2 separate regions of the Homo sapiens genome follow, and region 1 is linked to region 2. Evidence: promoter capture Hi-C in 16 types of primary human blood cells and fetal thymus (Javierre and others, 2016). All regions are on one chromosome and are shown on one strand. Each heading gives the region's core, a stretch centred on a gene start or on the middle of the fragment in contact. The rest is flanking DNA. Distances are from core to core; before and after follow the strand shown. Region 1 has its middle 6.3 kb from the start of PKIB. Region 2 holds the start of SMPDL3A (sphingomyelin phosphodiesterase acid like 3A).

Region 1 (4,946 bases), core at 899-3,398, 180 kb after region 2:
CAGGGGAGAACCCTCTTTTGTCTCTTCTAGCTTTTTTTTTCTTTTTTGAGACAGAGTCTCACTCTGTCACCCAGGCTGGAGTGCAATGGCGCGATCTCTGCTCACTGCAACCTCTGCCTCCTGGGTTCGAGCGATTCTCCTGCCTCAGCCTCCCAAGTAGCACGGATTACAGGCACATGCCACCACACCCTGCTAATTTTTGCATTTTTGCAGAGACGGGGTTTCACCATGTTAGCCAGGCTCGTCTTGGACTCCTGACCTCAGGTGATCCGCCTGCCTCAGCCTCCCAAAGTGCTGGGATTACAGGCGTGGGCCACCATGCCCAGCCCTCTTCTAGCTTTTAATGGCCACAGGCAATCCTTGATTGTCTTTAGCTTATAGCTACATAACTCCAATCTCTGCATCCATTTTCACATCTTCCCTATGTTTCTTCTCTACTGTTGGCATTGGTATTCCCCTCTTCTTATAAGGACATTTGTCATTGGATTTTGCATCCACCCAGTTCATCCAGGATGATCTCCCCTGGAGATCCTTACTTTAATTGCATCTTCGAAGATCCTTTTTCCAAGTAAAGTCAAATTCACAGGTACCAGAGGTTAGGTCATGGACATATCTTTTTAGAGACCACCATTCAGTCCACTGTAGCCAAGTCTATGGAGGCCAGAGGAATAGCAAGGCTGGATGACACTGGCATGATAGCTCTTCAGGTCTATTTGGCAAAGATAACTACAATAATATGAACCTTATCAATGTTTCTAAAGCTTTCAAACTGTGATATTTAATACATATGAAAATCAGAAGATTAGAGCTGCCCAGAGTCTTTACACCCCTGAGAGTAGCTATCTGCCTTGGGGACAAAAACCACTGAGAAGTCATGTACCTGGGACAGTGAGAAGTGTGGTTACAAAGAACTGAGGAAGTTGGCTTCCCTCTTGGAGGGGAGGGGAGGATTCGCCCACTCTCCATTCCAGAGGACATATGTGGTTCCTTGGTATTAAGGGAGAGTCTACAGGATGACCATATCTCACCCTTTCCTAAAAATATAAGATTCAGAAGGGCTTATATATGAAATATAAGATTCACCTGTGGGAGAGGCTGGGCTAGTTTCTCAAGCCGTACCTTGTAAAGGAAAATTTTTTAAATCCTTAGAGAGGGAAGAAGGAAATGTCGAAATCAGTGCTAACTTTTCCTCCAGCTGACAGACACTCTGAGGAATATTCAAGTAGCTGCCAGAGACAAATGGAACTCTCTTTAAAAAGCATAACACTCTCTGGCTTTTTCTTCTTTCTGCTCCAGGACAGGAACCATAAATTCCATCAAAGACCAGAAACTATAAGTTCCACCAAAGCTTCCATCCATTATTTGCAGAGTGATGATGTGAGAGAATTCCAAATTGTGGCAGGGGCAGCAGCATAACTAAGCCGAGGTTTGGAACAGATTACAGGAGCATCCATCTTTGAAAGGCCACTAAGTATGTTGTCCTGCAACCAAGCTTGGGTGACAGAGTGGCCTAGGGCACAAGGGGCACAGACTGTGCTACTAGTTAGTGACCCTGCTCCTTTTGTATAGCAGAAAGGGTGCTACAGACCCACATTCACCAAGGGAGAAGCTGGACAATGAAACAGTTGGGGACACAACTGTCCTTTAGAAGATCAGAGTCTATAAAGTAAGAAGCAGAAGGATGGGAAAGAGACTGATTTCTTTTCAGTATTTAAAATAGAAATTTCCTAACAAAGTATTCCTTCATTACCATTGTAGTCATGTGTCTCTCCCCACTCCTGATCAATAGGGCATTGTTTTGCAGAGTAGCAGGGCATATGAAAAGAACACAGAAAACAGAAAATGTTGGGTTCTGATCCCAACTGGCAATGCCACTCAAGGCTGTGTAATCTGAGTAAAATTAGTTTTCTTATGACTGAAGGGAAGATGAAGAACTAAGGGATTATCCTGCTCTAAATTTCTTTAAGTCTCTGAATTGGCCTCCTTATTAAATCGAAATTAAGCCCAACATTTAGAACACTTTACCCATCCACCTCCAACTAACTAATTCTTATCACTTCCCAGCACAAATCCTGCTTTCCAAATAAACTCATCAACTTGACACTCCATGTGACCTCTTTTTTTCTAATTTTCATAATTGGTGCAAGGGGATGTATTTATTTTCATTACCTTCTGTTCTTAAGCAGTGTCACTTAATTTCTTCAAATTCCTGTGCACAAATCTTCTACTTTGGGAAACTTATTGAGGAATTTTTCTCCATTTCTGATCAATTCATTCAAATGTGCCAAGTTGCCATCCAATCTTACAGACTTTCCTCCATGTGTTTGGGGAGTATGGCAATTTTAAAAGAAAAATATTATTCTCTTAAGTTTTTGACATGCCCTTAAAACTTTTCATGTGTATTGTCTAACTCTACTATCACTGTCAGCATGAGATTCTTCTATTCCAAAATTGGTATTTTCTAACTTCTTCAAGTAAATGAGACAACTCTGAATGTTTCAGGACCAGTACATGAATTGCTAACCCTAACCAACTAACCATTTAATGGTGCAGCATCTGTGTTTGGCACAGAGTTGGTATCTAATAAATATTTTTGTATAAATATGTAAGTAAGCTAATGTGCACCTTTTTATTTGACCATAAGTACACACACACACTAACCATTCTCCCACCTCTCTTCTCCATTCAACAGGATGACCTTAACACATAACAAAACACCAAAAATAATTAAAGAAATCACAACTTACCAAAGATATTTTCGTGACTAATAAGTATGTGGTAAGTTATTTGCCCAAATAAGCTTTATTTGTACTAATACCTGTAAAAAATGTAGTTGAAAGCCAGGAGTGGTCGTTCATGCCTGTAATCCCAGCACTTTGGGAGGCCAAGGTGGGCGGAACACTTGAGGCCACGAGTTCAAGACCTGCCTGGCCAACGTGGCAAAACCCCATCTCTACTAAAAATCCATAAATTAGCCGGGCGTGGTAGCACATACCTATAATTGCAGCTACTCCAGAGAGTCTGAGGCAGGAGAATCGCTTGAACTCAGGAGGTGGAGGTTGCAGTGAGTTGAGATAGCACCACTGTACTCTAGCCTAAGCAACAGAGTGAGACTCTGTCTCAAAAAAAAAGAAAAAAAGAAATGTCTTTCAAATTTTTTCAATATACTTTTATGTGAATTTCTTCTGTGCACGGATACATAAAATCTAAGATTGGGTTAGATCTAAGATTAGATGCTCATAATTAAAAAATGAATTCACAACTTCTAACATGGGAAATCCTGATGTCTCTCATGCCTTATCTTATTAAATTGGAAAATATACATTTTATCAGAACTCCAGTAAGTAGCACCTTTATGACATTTATGTTATTCGTATTAGATATTATTTATTATGATCCCAAATTACTCAATAACTATAGATAAATATAATGAATGTTAAGTTGTCTTATAAAATGAATTAGGTCTTTTTAATTTAGATAAACTCTAATTTAACCATAGCTCCTGTATCACTGTTCAGAGTTGGGGTGGATGGAGTCTTTTAAAAAAGAGAAGCTTTTGAGATGTTCCTGGGGAATTGGACTTAAAAGTTAGCCTCTTTTAAAAATTTGCTTAGGAACCTAAAATGTAAACGTACTCCTATTTTTTTTTTTTTTTTTTTTTTTGAGACGCAGTCTTGCCCTGTCACCCAGGCTGGAGTGCCGTGGTGCGATCTCGGCTCGCTGCAACTTCTGCCTCCTGGGTTCAAGCAATTCTCCTGTCTCAGCCTCTCAGGTAGCTGGGACTACAGGTGTGCACCACCACACCCGGCTAATTTTTTTGTTTTTTTTGTTTGTTCATTTGTTTTTTGCTTGTTTTTTGTATTTTTAGGGGAGACGGCATTTTGCCACATTGGCCAGGCTGGTCTCGAACTCCTGGCCTCAAACAATCCGCCTGCCTCGGCCTCTCAAAGTGCTGAGATTACAAGCGTGTGCCACCACGCCTGGCCAACTTACCCTATTGATACAGGATTTTTTGTTAGTTTGTTTTTTGTCTTTTTTTGTAAGGAATTACCCTTATACTCTACTGGAATTAGAAAAGCTATAAAAATTAACATTAGCTCATTAATCCAAAGTAAATAACAACAAAAGTTGTATTCCTTAAAGCATCTTAACTGTTGAAATACAATCTCTGGCATCAACATTTCTCAGAACATTGAGGCTAAGATGCATCTTATGATTCTCATTAGCTACAGCTCTATAGACAAAATGTTAGAGAAAACAAAGCCTGTCTCCTTTCTGTATCTTTTTCATCTTCCCATTCCCAACCACTTGAGCTTCTTCTATGAGTCCTAAGTGGTTTTAAGTCCACACTGGCCCTATTAGTAGCTTCTTGTGAAACACTATTTGGGTTCAGCCATAGGAAGGTGAAGCACAGTAATTTACATCACAGAAAAGAATCTTAGGGAGATAATAATGTCTGAGAATAATTTCCAGTGGTTTGAGTTGAAGCACCGCTATGATTCCTAGGAGTAAATATCTTCCTTTACAACCAGACTTCAGGACTACCAGTTAATAGATATGCATAAGATAAATCTTTTTCCCAACCTTGTATTTATAAAAAAAAAAAAAAATGAAGGGAAAGGAAGGGAAGAGCTTGGAAGGAAAGAAAAGGGAGGACTCCATGCTTTCCTAATTGATTCCAAACTACAGGTGACCCTTAAACAACACTGGGTTAAGGGCACTGAACCCTCGCCTGTTGAAAATCCTCATATAACTTTTGACTCCCCCAGAACACAACTACTAATAGCTACTGTTGTCCAGAAGCCTTATTGATAACACAAACAGTTGATTAACACAGTTTTGTATGTTATATGTACTATATACTGATAAAGTAAGCCAGACAAAAGAAAATGTTAGTAAGAAAGTCATAAGGAAGAGACAATATATATACTATATATTAAGTGGAA
Region 2 (4,384 bases), core at 1,794-4,293:
GATCTTTCTACTGCATGGCATTCCAGACAGATAAATTAGGGGATAATCATTTAAATTCACTGAAAGATGTCTTTAAACAGAAGCCAAGAACAGAGCTCTGACAGGTTCTTAACCTGGGACTCATGAATAATGAACATCTGGAAGCCTCATGTCCCTCTCCTAACGAAACTGTGTGCCTATGTGTGTTTCCAAGGCCTGGCCTGTGGCAGAGCCCACACTCCAATCCATGTTTCCTAGTTCAAAGTCCAAAGTTCTGTTTACTACAGCACGTTTTCCTGTTCTGCAGACTATCTTTAAAAAGATTTCCAAGTCGGGCGCGGTGGCTCATGCCTGTAATCCCAGCACTTTGGGAGGCTGAGATGGGCAGATCACGAGGTCAGGAAATTGAGACCATCCTGGCTAACACGGTGAAACCCCGTCTCTACTAAAAGTACAAAAAATTAGCCAGGCATGGTGGCGGGCGCCTGTAGTCCCAGCTACTCGGGAGGCTGAGGCAGGAGAATGGCGTGAACCCGGGAGGCGGAGTTTGCAGTGAGCCGAGATTGCGCCACTGCAGTCCAGCCTGGGTGACAGGGCGAGACTGTCTCAAAATAAAAAATAAAATAAAATAATAAAATAAATTTTTAAAAAGACTTCCAAAAATATGTGTGTGTGTTCAGCAAATCTAGAAAAACTCTCAAAATTATACCAGAAAATCTTTTAATCCAAAATATTTTATAACTTCTCAAGAATCCAATGAACCATAGTTCAGACATAATTCAGCTCGCCTTATGCCTTATTTGAACATAGTTTGAACACTCAGCAGTATATGAATGGTTGAAGTATGGCTGCTGGGATTGGCCAAACTTAGCTATTGTTACCAGTGCATACTCTTAAGTTAGGTTTTCAGTCTCATCTGACTATTAAGCTAGGTTACAGTTCATTCACAAGGATTCAAATATAGAAGTAAGGAGTCCTTCTCAGGCCGTATTTAGTTTGCTTTAACAGTACCAATACACAAGCCAGTCCCAGCCTACTCAATCTAAAGAACTGTAGCCAAAAACACACAGGTGAAGCTTCCTAGAACTTCTGTCGTCCGACCACCAGGACTTGACAGGGCAGAAAACTAAGACTGGGAATTTAAACGCAAAAACACAAAACAAGAAAGCAGTAGCCAGGCAGGGTGGATGCTGAAAGGAAGTCCAAGCATGTGGGGCTGAGAGGAGGCAGGAGAGTTGTCACATCAAGTGGAAAATACGCAAAATATTACAAACAAGGAGAATTGTGAAACTGCTGAGTGAACACTTCAGACCTTTGAACTCCAGTAACACTTCAGACTTTCGAACTCCAGTGACTCCAGTAACACTTCAGACCACTGAACTCCAGTAACCCCTCTTCCTTCCCCTTTAGTAGGAGGGGATTCAACCTTGCAGTTTCCCAAACAGGAGGTGTGAAGACTCACAGAGTCCCCAGAAAGCGCTCATTCAGGCCTCTTTAAAACACAGGTGAATTTGCCATTGTGTGGCCTCAAGCAACGTGAGACATTTTATTTCAAAACCCTAACCGGTCACATAATTAAAGGAACACAAGCTAAGCCGTAATAAAAGCAGAAACCAGTATACATAAACATTTTGGGGAAATTTCTTGTAATGACTGACATTTGCCACAGTTCGGAAACCAGATTTACAGTTTTTGCTTCAGACCTGACAGCTGAGTCGTGAGGACTTGGCCTTCAAAGAGAAGATATTTGCCCTAGAGCGCTCCCAAGTCCTGAGAAAGCACAGAGGGAGCGAAAGAGGTTTCAGCACTAGGTGCTGCTACCGAGTCTCAGGGACAACTCTCCCCTAAAAGAAAACAGAACCCCACTTCTCTAATTTTGTTTTTCCTCTTAACAGTGCAATTATTTTTAAAGGGAGTTGAGGAGGTGAGGGCACCTTGATTTTTGGAACTGGAGGCTCGGATGGCATTGTACAATCTCCCACCAAAATGTATCTATTCTGGACCAGTGAGTCTCAAACTTAGCCGAAAGGAATCATGCGGAGGGTGGGTTAAACAGCATACTGTGGAAGCCCAACGCCGGCGTTTCAGATTCAGTAGGTCTGGGATGGGCTGGAAATTTGCAATGCTAACAATTTTAAGTGCGGCGGCTGCTGCCACCGGTCCAGGGCACACTTAAGAGAATCACTACTGTAACGGGCACTGTGTTAAGTGCTGGGAGTGAATAAAATGGGTCCCGCCCGCAGGAAACCTAGTGGACATCCAGGTGAAATGAAGTCCCCGTGAGTTCCACGGTAGACTAAGGGGTGAGTCTACCCGAGGGTGCTTTCGCGCTCTGGCTGGGTGAGTGGCAGAAAAAGCCACTGATCTCGGTCGAGCAAGACAGAAGATAGTGTGAGTCACGCTGAAATTTACTTCCCTGAGCTGGTGGGGAAACTGCAGTCCCCCTCCATTCAGGACCGATTAGGGGCCTCTTGCTGTGCTGGACATCGGACTCCCAGCTTCCTCTTCCCTTGAGTCCCGCAGCTTTTCCTTCCTTCCCCAAGGAACAAAACAACTGAGATGCAGGATGTAAACAAAAGCCAGGCTGGCGAAATCCGGCCGACGCGCCCTTGGAGCGCCCCCACCGGCGAGGGCATTTCCCCCGCCCAGCCCCGGCCTCCCGGCTGGACGCCCTAACGCTGTAGTCCCTTGGTCGCCCTCCCCGCGCCCACCAGCCGTGGTCAACGCCGGACGCGTCAGGGGCCCCGCTAGCCCGAGCCTCTGCCGGGGGCAGCTGCCCCCACGCACTTTCTCCTGCTGTGCGCAGGCGCCGCCGCTCCGCGCTCTTTGCCGGCTGGGAAGAGAAGGGTCGCGGACAACTCACCTATCGCCGGAGGAGGATTCCTGCCGCCTGCGGGCGCCACGGGCAGCCCGAGGCCGGAGCGGCAGTGCCAGGCAGTCAGCAGGCAGCAGACGAGTGCGCGCACCAGCGCCATGGAGGGCCGCGGGGCTGACCTGGAGGTTCGGGCTGTCCCGCAGCTCCACTCGGACCGTCAGGCCTGAGGGTGAGGCGGAGACAGAAGACGGCTGCGGGTGTAGACGTCCGACTGATCACGTGCAAAGGCAGATTCCGCAGCGAGTCAGTTCGCCTGACCTTCAGCTGCTGTTTAGCGATGATCTGTTCTCGTATTTCTTAGCGTCAGTGTTTGGCCTAGGAAGGAATGTACTTGTAGAAGCTCAAATTCCGACTCGTGTATCAGTGGTGCAGTTGATGTCAAACACTGACATACTGGTGCTTGGGGATAGAGAAAGACATTCAATTTAGTAAAAGCCAGAAGGAGGGAGAACAAGATCTCTCAAATCCGTGTGTAAAAAGGAAAAAGCAGGGAGTTTTTATTCTGCTAGAGAATAAGAGAGGGGGATTTTCAAAGAATCCAGGGGAAAAGTCTGTTTCTTCAGTCTCAGATAACACCTTTGAGCAATTAGACGTCCAGGCATCCGCAGCTGGTTGCAAAGCCCTTGGAGGTATTCATCCCTTCTGCAAACATTTTTGTGACCCTGAAGTTAACCTCTTTGTTCTTGACGAGGAAGCAGTACCTCAGCAGTTTATAATTATATTGTGGAAACAAGGAGAATATTGGGCAAAAAGCGAGTGGTTAAAATGTGCAAGCAAGCAGGAGCCTGATCAGAATTTTCATTATTTCAGTCACTAAAAAATGCTGGGGTGCTGAAATCTCAACGATCCCGGTTCCATTCTTGGGCCAACCTACCCCAGCTTTAATGGGTAGGGCTCCTCAGTAGAGGTGATGCAGAGAGCCCTGAAGTATCATGATTTGAAGGAAATCAGCAAAAGTTATGGATACTGCAGTGGATCTCGAATTGAAGTCTCTGAACTGGGAACATTAGCACCACCTGGGAACTCTAGTTAGAAATGCAAATTCCCAGGCACCACCCTAGACCTGTTGAGTCAGAAACCTGCTGGAGCCCAGCAGTTTGTGTTTTCACAAGCATTTCAGGTCATGTTAAAGTGATTGTGATGTTTGAAAACCAATGCTCAAAGATACGACGTTTTGTTTTTTGTTTTTTTTAAACTGCCGGGAAGAGAAGGGTCTTAGAATTAGAACATGTTCTGAAATCATGCTTTATGCATTCCAGAGATGCATGGAAATCATAAGTAGAGGTGGTTGATTTGATGCTTCCACGGAACTTTTTTGAATATACTTCTGGCAAAGAAGTAAGTCTATACAAAGAAGTAAGCAAAGATAAGTCTGGCAAAGAAGTAAGTCTATACAAAGAAGTAAGCAAAGATAAGTCTGGCAAAGAAGCCAGAATCCCGAAACTGTGCTGGATCCTGTATTCTGTGTTCCTTCTCTCACCGTTTATGAGGATGCTGATCTCTTGGAGATGACAAGCTAATAATTTAAAT

Evidence for each region. The method cuts DNA at HindIII sites, captures the fragments that hold promoters and counts their contacts. A CHiCAGO score of 5 or more calls a contact.
Region 1: a contact is called between a fragment that was not itself captured here and the fragment with the promoter of SMPDL3A in region 2, in 1 of 17 cell types (monocytes). The highest score is 7.7, in monocytes.

Annotation. Positions count from the first base shown.
Region 1 is chr6:122,601,673-122,606,618 of GRCh38, reverse strand. It overlaps a transcript of PKIB not described here. Among named protein-coding and RNA genes, the nearest start is that of PKIB, 6.3 kb to the left of the region's middle. The HindIII fragment of the contact is 1,308 bases long and covers 1,495-2,802 here.
Region 2 is chr6:122,787,917-122,792,300 of GRCh38, reverse strand. It overlaps SMPDL3A (sphingomyelin phosphodiesterase acid like 3A), which reads right to left and starts at 3,043. Exons shown (of 8, transcript NM_006714.5): 1 at 2,843-3,043. The coding sequence starts at 2,954. RefSeq lists a cis regulatory region at 1,043, enhancers at 959-1,128, 2,232-2,731, 2,732-3,233 and silencers at 1,323-1,617, 2,723-3,017. The HindIII fragment of the contact is 3,428 bases long and covers 1,058-4,384 here.